Regions from separate parts of the Homo sapiens genome. Here all the other regions are linked to region 2. Evidence: promoter capture Hi-C in human tissues and cell types (Jung and others, 2019). All regions are on one chromosome and are shown on one strand. The core of a region is centred on a gene start or on the middle of the fragment in contact, and the rest is flanking DNA. Distances in the headings are between cores, read along the strand shown. Region 1 has its middle 51 kb from the start of TUSC1. Region 2 holds the start of TUSC1 (tumor suppressor candidate 1). Region 3 has its middle 35 kb from the start of TUSC1.

Region 1 (2,936 bases), core at 128-2,627, 51 kb after region 2:
GAGCTTAAAGTCTACCAGTTGCTCCCACTTGCATTTAGGATAAGTTTAGACTTTCTCATCTGGTTGGACCAGGATTTTTCTCTACCCTGCCTGCCTTCCAGCTTCTTCTCCTGCTGTGGAGATAATGCCGCAAGGTAGGCATTAAGCACTACCACACATTTAAGAAAGGAAATAGAGGCCCAGAGTCTCTGGGAAACTTGCTTGAACTCATATAATTAGGAGGTTCTCCTATGGTCCTCCTGTGAGGGTACATGCATTATTTTTACCAGTCCTGTGAATCTACTGCTAAGTCTTCAAAGCATAGTGCTCTTTCACACTTACGTGATTTAAGCAAGGCCTTTCTCTTGCTGGAATATTCTTCCTCACATATCCACTTCACTGCATTCAAGACACAGCTCCAGAGTCATCCCTTCTCAAAAGCACTCCCTAGAGGCCGGGTGTGGTGGCTCACGCCTGTAATCCCAGCACACTGGGAGGCTGAGGCAGTTGGATCACTTGAGGCCAGGAATTTGAGACTAGCCTGGCCAACATGGTAAAACCCTGTCTCTACTAAAAATAACAACAAAAAAAAAAATAGCTGAGTGTGGTGCTGCGTGCCTGTAGTCCCAGCTACTGGGGAAACTGAGGCCAGAGAATCGTGTGAATCCAAGAGGTGGAGGTTGCTGTGAGCCAGATCGCACCACTGCCCTCCAGCCTGGGTGAGAGAGCAACGCTCCGTCTCAAAACAAACAAACAAACTCAGCATTCCCTAATATTTCAATGATGAGATAGGTGCTCCTGCTTCATGCTGCTTCTATTTCAATGACAGTTAAATATCCCTTGGTTTTAGCATTTTTTCCACTTTTATTGTGATCCTCCACTTATCCCCCCTCCTAACAGTAAGTCCTCAACCACTGTATGTATCTCACCTCTGTGCCTCTTGCAGTGTGCACAGTTTCTGGAATTTGATAAGGCATCAGTTCTGGATTTCTCTAATTATTAATTTTAATCCACTGAAAGGTAGAGATAAATCATTGCTTTCTCTTATTTGGAAAATGAGAACTTGGGCCTACATTATCACTATGTGATACTATGATTACAACTTCTTTGTATTTCTGTGAAGTTCTGTATCTGTACATATTCTTGGAATATGCAAACATTGCAGGCCCTGAAACGTAGTGCACTTGGCTTATGTTTAATTTCTTTAGTACACAAAAATACTGATTAATTTTACTATTGTGATGTATGTACCTGAGTTTATATGTGTTCACAACAGGCAAGACAGACAAAAGTACAAAGTATACAAAAAATAATTTGAATTTATTGGTGTGTACATTAGGCTGTCAATCTGAGGCTCAAGCAACTAGTAAGGTCAGTGAAGTAAATGAAACTGTAGGCCAGTTTGGTGGATAAAGAAAACAAAGACTGAACACTTTAAGTTAGTAATTTTGCTGAATTGATTAAATTATTTATTTGATCAATTTGATCAAGATCATCTATGTCTAGAAAGCTTATGGACTCATATATATTATTACATAGTCATTGAGAACATTAAAACAACAAAAATATTTATTTTAAAAAGAAGGACATATAGAACTAAATAATCATGCAGATTTCCATCTAGGCTGTCACATTCAGATACCTGGAATCTAAAAAGAGACAGAGACTTGAAAAAGAAATTTAGACTAAAATAAAAAATGATCTGACTCAAGTTCTCTTGCTATCGTAATGTGCAGCATATTTAAACATAAAGAAATTTCTCAAAATCAAATTTTGTAGGCATTCTGTTTACAGGTTTTGCCCAATCTGGGTAGTAGATTCTTGATTCTGATGGAAAACTGAGGTCCACTATTTCCAGGTATAAACATATAACAATAGAATATTAACTCAAAAGCATGTAAAGATGGAATTCATAATATGTAATGGGAACAATATAACATTTTCTTATCGATTTGCAGAGGCATATTACTGTATATGAACAGGATTTATGAAGACTTATATAGCTGCATAAATAGGTAAATAAAATGGGAATAAAAGTAAATTCAGAAAAGCAAGATAGAGGCAGTAATGTGTTGAACACACAAAACATAGAAAACAAGGCCCTGCATCCTTGCTCAAGGAAGACATAAAATTAATTCTAAGTTCTCTAGATGTGACAGAAGAAAATAAAATCAATAACGCCAGCCACAGCACCTATAGTGTAGAAACAAGCCAATTGTTTAAGAAAGACAATTATTCCAGTAAATGGTAAAATGCATTTACCTTATAGGTTTTCCTAGAGAGGATTCCATATTATATAATAACATAATTAACGACAGACTGATAGTAAATACAACGTTGACTGTTATGGAGCTATTTTTAATATGGTATTCAATATAGCTTAATAGTATTATGACACAGTTAAAATCAGTAAAATTACTTCAGTAGAGGGATCAACTTAATGTGCTCTCTACATGTGATATCTTTCTGTCCAGCTTCACAAAAAAAGAAGTTTTAAAGTGAAGACCTCAAAATAACATTTATGCAAAAGTTCAGGCAAGTAAGAGAAATTAGGGCAAGATAAGTAGAAATTAAATATCTGTGAGAGCCTATCTAAACTAAAGAGATTTAAATATAATTTGTAACAATAATAACCTGTGGAGACCCAAGAAAGCAGGCCTGGAAATGAAGACCAGGTTTGGCCATCAGTTGCAAATTCTGTTTTGGTGAACTAAGATGAGCGACTACTTTGTCTATATTCCAAAAATACTGCATAATTATTGTTTATCTTAGCCAATCTTCTGAAAGTTATTGAAAAATAATAATGTCAAGATTTTACTCCCTGGCAAATACCTAAAGTCTAGCTGTTCAGTGCTATTAGTAAAACAGAGTCTTATGCATTATCAAATAGATTAACTAGGGTGGAAGGGATATTGCCTGTAAAAATAGAGAAGAAAAAATTAAGCATGAACCTGAAT
Region 2 (2,700 bases), core at 55-2,554:
ATTTTATAGGACATCCAAGTAACACCGACTTATAAAAGCAAACACTGTACTTAAAATGTTGGCCACATATGAAAGAATAGCTGAAGGCTTTAGGGGATTGAAGAATGGATAAACTCAACCAACTAAAAACACATTACTCATCCCTCAGAACCAAAATACAGGAAAAAAAAAAATACAACAGGTTCGCACAACATCCAGAAAAGTTCAGGGAATATGAAGTGTTTCTTGGCACCCAGTTCTCGCTGTTTTAAAATCCGTCCCTTCGTTGTTGGCTAGGCCTCTCTCCAGGGAAACTAGCCGGGGCAAGAGGCAGGGGAACTGTACATGTGGGAGGTCCTGAGGGCCCTTGCACCCACTCGACCTCCACCAAGCGGATGGCCAAGCGCCACCCGGAAGTGTCCACTGGTGGGGGCGGGAAGGCACCGTAGTCCAAGGTATCCGCGGGCAGGGAGCGGGCCAGGGCGTGCGCGAGGTCGGGGGTAGCTGGGAACGGAGGAGGAGGGGCCCGCTCGAGGCTCCGCCTCTCACCGGCTGCGGCCTCGGCTACAGCCAGGGCCCAGAGGGCTCCGAGTCCCGGGAGCGGAGGCCGGAGTCGGGTTCCTGTAGAGGCTGCTCCTCCTTGTCCCCGCTCGGACGTGGTCCCCGCTGCTCGAGGTGCAGCTGCAGCAGGGCCCGGCGGTACATGGCTTCCAGCTTCTCAAGTCGGGCCCTCAGGGCCCTGGGGCTGCCCGGCTCGTCCTCTCGGCCGCTGTCTCTAGCCCTCCGGTTCGTGCTGGCCTCTTCAGGGACCCGGCGTGCCTCCGCGGGCGTCCCGTTGCCGCCTTCGCCGGGGAGCCGCAAAGCCTGACGGAAGAGGCTGCGGTTCTCGCGCTTCAGCCGCCGGTTCTCGAGCCGCAGCCGGGCGTTCTCCTGACGCAGCCGCGCGTTCTGCCGGTCCCACTCGTCCCGCGCACGGATGGCCTCCAAGTGGCTCGCCGCCAGGTCGGCAAACCGCTCCTCCAGCTGCTGTCGGGCGCCGTCCGCGCGGCCTCGCCAGCCCACGCCGCCGCCGCCGCCGCTGGGGCTGCCCCCACCACGAGCCCGGCCGGAGCGGCCTGGCCCTCGGCCGTCCGCAGCACCGTCCCCGCCGCAGCAACTCCCGCGCCTAGTGGCGCCACCACGCATGCGCCACATCGGTCCCATCCCAACCGCGCCGCCAGCCCCGTGGGCTGAGGGGCCGCGCGGCCAGGCGCGGGCAAGTTCGGGGCTGGCAGGGCGGCCGGGGTGACGACGGAGGAGGAGAGGAGGTCGCGGGCGGCGGCTGCTGGCTTAGAGCCAAAGGAGGCCGGGAATTTGCCCAGACTGAGGCGTGTCCTGTCTCCTGTGGTGGAGCTGCCCCCTGGGCCTGCTCTCTCCAGGCTGCGCTGACACACAGTTCCCCCGGGGAGTGCTTTGCTGTTCAGCCCTCCGGCTGCGCGGGAAAAAGCGTGTATCCTCAGCTGAGTTGTGCCAGGGCGCTTCCGTGCAGGCCTGGGCACTGCAGGAACTAGCCGTCCTCGCCCGCTCCGGAGTGCAACCACCAGTGGTTACTTTGCTCTTTACACGGCATTCTCAAAACTAATGATAATAGAATGATCGGTTCTGAGACAAAGCTATGGGGCAAGTTGAAAAGCTCTAAGTGCTTCATTTAAAACCCAGTGGTTTAACCCACCCCTATGTTTAATAAAACATTAAACAGAATTGGGCTGAGTACCTGTCATGGGGTTTCCCGGTGGAAACACCTGGCTCTCCAAAGAATGCAGTCAATTCCCAATTTGTGAACAGCCAGGAATTCACTCTGTAAATTGTTCAGAACGCTATAGAAACTAGGTCATACTTAGTTGATTTGTTCAGGCCAACCCCCAAAAGCTATGAAACAAGAAGTGCTCTGTTTATTGAAGAAACTGAATACTTAGTTCCAAAGTTTCTGGGATCAAGGATGTACATCTCATTGAATGAATCATTCCTTCTTGTAGGGTCTCAACCTACATAGTAACTGGATGATTGCAAAGTAATTTAAGGATTAGGTACTGACGCCAGAATCTCTTAAGCAAGTATGCCCTAGCAAGAATCTACATGTCTAACAGGGTCCCAGAGAATTCTCAGGATAACCAAAATTTCCAAACCACTGGAGCAAGTAACGAACAAGAAAAACATATAAGTACATACATGGGGTCTTCATTGACAAGTACAAATAAGGGGAAAATATTTGCTCAATTTTTTTGTACTTTTATTTTGTTAGGCAAGATCTTAAGAGACCACAACACCAAATGTGTTCTCAATTATCTCATTTTATCACATGAAAGATATAATTTTGGAATTTCAAAAAATATAAATTTAGTTTTAAGAAGGACCACATTCCAGGCCGGGCGTGGTGGCTCACGCCTGTAATCCTAGCACTTTGGGAGGCCGAGGCGGGAGGATCACAAGGTCAGGAGATCAAGACCATCCTGGCTAACACAATGAAACCCCGTCTCTACTAAAAATACAAAAATTAGCCGGGCGTGGTGGCACGGGCCTGTAGTCTCAGCTACTCGGGAGGCTGAGGCAGGAGAATCACTTGAACCCGGGAGGCAGAGTTTGCAGTGAGCTGAGATTGCGTCATTGCACTCCAGCCTGGGCGACAGAGCAAGGCTCCTTTTCAAAAAAAAAAAAAAAAAAAAAAAGGAGCATATCATTCTT
Region 3 (2,859 bases), core at 35-2,534, 35 kb before region 2:
GTTCCTAACAGGCCACAGATCTGTACCTATCAGTGGCCAGAGTTGGGGACCCCTGCCCTAGAGCCTTCAGAAAAAACATATTCCTGCCATTCCCTCTATTTTAGTCCATTGAGACCAATTTCATACTCGCAACATCAAGAACTGTAAGATAAATTTGTGTTATTTTAAGTGACCACGTCGGTGGTAATTTGTTACAGCAGGAAGAAGAAACGAATACAAACACATTTTGTAAATATATTACTAGTAGCAACTGGTTGGTTTATTGATAGCAACACTCCTAATACCTAACACAGTACCTGGCACATTGATGAAATAATTATATTTAACTGATTACCAGATTTAACTTTCATAGTAGAAAATTTAACCGCACAGACACAATATATTGAGTTCACACTTTAATTCCTATAAGTCACATGTATAGTATGAGGAGTTTGGAATAATAAAAAAAAGAAGACAAGATTTTGTCCTGAATTTTATAGTTTTTTTTTTTTTTCATAGAGACAGTAAAGTTTCACATGGAAACAAAACAAACAAATAATATTGCAATGACATATACCTATCTATAACAATGCTGAAGCAATGCTACTGAAATATCACCAAGGTAAGGAAACCCAGGACTAATTTTGTGGGAAAAACAGAACATTATTTCAGAAAATCTGTCAGAATTATGAAAGCTTAAATGAAATTTATAATCTTCATTTTTAACAGAAGTCAGCTAAACACTAATGGCAATTAATAATGCCTTCTAAAATGAACCTTTAAAATTGGTATAGTTATCTATATAATAGAAGTAATATTTTCATGACTGGTAATTATGAGGCAAAATTCTCCTTAGAAATATAAGTGGCTTCCTATTTCATAGTCAATCCTGCAATGAAAATGCATGGATTGATAAAAAATAAAATTTTTATTTATTAGTTTGTCAGTAATACATATATACACTATATATATATATAGCACTATTTTACTACCCTCAAATAATCTTAATGAAAAAAATAATGCAGTGGAGGAAAGAGTCAATAGTCAGGAATCATAAAGAAAAATGTTTCCTATCATTCTTTTTCACAACTAACAAAGCAAAATTAAAGTTAATATATTTAATTTGGGGGCAGGGAAGAGGAGTAAAATTATATTCCTAGCAAAAATAATAGTTGTGATAGAACAGAGATATAATTAGAAACACCAGAATGCATCTTAGCCATTCTGTTGGCCTCAGACACCTGAATAAAAATAAGACATTAGAAAAGATGAACATATAAACCTCTTACCCTACTATAAATTATAGAAAAAGTGTTGTTTGTTTTTGTGTTGTATTTAAACAAATCTTAGTCAAACAGTACCTGTGTTGAAATTGGGTAAGGAGCCAAGTTGTGTTTCCTATAGAGTCCTCCAATGTCTTATAGGTCCTATATCAAATTTGCTAAAATTCCCCAAGTAAATGAGAAAGCTTTGCCTTTGTCTATTCTAGGTTTCGTCAGTATCCACAAAATGCCATTATTTCTAAGAAAAAGGTCAAACTAACTGAAAAGAATCCAAATCCATTATGATGGGTTAAATCGATAAAATCGAAGGATTATTTATTTAACTCTGAAGTGCTGGCAAGTATAAACTAACTGAAATTAGGGGAGCAGTTTAAGTGGAGTATGAAGGGAGTGTGAGAAAGTAAAAGCAGATTTTAATATAAAATGATAAATTTCATTTAAGTAATAGACTACAAGCCAAGCTTACTCATGAGCATAGATGCAAATGTCAAGGTTTTAGAGAGCTAAATTCATTACATAGGAAATATAGTACACCATGATCAATCCAGGTCAATCCAGTAATACAAGGGCGGTTTAATATGTGTGGGTTTTTTAGCTTCTTGGCAAATTAAAGGAGAATACTGTATGATCATCTCAATCTTTATAGAAAATAAAATTCAATACATTCATTATGAAAGTTTTCACAAAGTGTAAACTAGCAAAAATGAAAAAGAGCTAGAAAAAGTGTTATCTTCCTAAAAACAGACCTTTTAAAAACAAAATATGGTAAAGATGTACATTATAATTGCTTCTATTTCACATGCTTTTGGAAGTCTTACCATGGTAAAGAAAGGGAAAAAATAAGATTATTAGAATTGTAAACAATATAAAAATTATTATTCACAGATGCTGTAATTACTACTTTGAAACATCAAAAGCATTACAGAAAAAAGTGTAGAAATAATAAGTTTAACAATATGCCTGAATACATGGCATCAATATACTACAATAAAATTAAATTCTGTGCACCAGTAGGAAACACAGAATATAGTAATCATCATTCATCATCATCATCATCATATCTATCATGTATCATTGCTATCAAATGTAAAGCACTTAAGAAATTTCTAAGAAAACATATGTAAATGCTATGTAAAAAATATAAAATTTTATTGAAATATATTTAAAATGTCTCAAAGGATAGATCACTCTCATGGACTATGAGATCTACAAATTTATATATAGATTCAATATATGAATCAAAGTTAAATATTTTTAGAAACTGACAAGTTAATTCTGTAATTTATACCTTAAAAAAGGCCCAAAAAGAGACTTACACAAAATATTTTATCTACATGAAAGTTAATCCATGGTGAAAAAATTAGAACATTGGCTGCCTCATGGAATGGTGCACAAATTGACATGGGGGGAGGCATTAGAGAACTTTCTGGAAGGATGGTGATGTTCTGTAAGTTGACAGCCATTTGAGTCGTGCAACAGGTGTATGCATATATTAAAACTCATGAAATGGTACACATATGGTTTGTGCATTCACTGCAAATTTTTACCTAGAAAAGCTTACTTAAATACATATTGAACTCAAATATTAATCTGAAGT

The links. The method cuts DNA at HindIII sites, captures the fragments that hold promoters and counts their contacts. A contact is called where the count stands out against the background at its distance.
Region 1: a fragment that was not itself captured here is called in contact with the fragment with the promoter of TUSC1 in region 2 in 1 of the 25 tissues and cell types used here (H1 embryonic stem cells).
Region 3: a fragment that was not itself captured here is called in contact with the fragment with the promoter of TUSC1 in region 2 in 1 of the 25 tissues and cell types used here (bladder).

The regions. Positions count from the first base shown.
Region 1 is chr9:25,727,588-25,730,523 of GRCh38, forward strand. No RefSeq gene overlaps it. Among named protein-coding and RNA genes, the nearest start is that of TUSC1, 51 kb to the left of the region's middle. The HindIII fragment of the contact is 6,496 bases long and covers 1-2,936 here.
Region 2 is chr9:25,677,140-25,679,839 of GRCh38, forward strand. TUSC1 (tumor suppressor candidate 1) reads right to left here and starts at 1,305. Exons shown (of 1, transcript NM_001004125.3): 1 at 1-1,305. The coding sequence starts at 1,173. The coding sequence ends at 544. The HindIII fragment of the contact is 15,020 bases long and covers 1-2,700 here.
Region 3 is chr9:25,642,314-25,645,172 of GRCh38, forward strand. No RefSeq gene overlaps it. Among named protein-coding and RNA genes, the nearest start is that of TUSC1, 35 kb to the right of the region's middle. The HindIII fragment of the contact is 3,505 bases long and covers 1-2,859 here.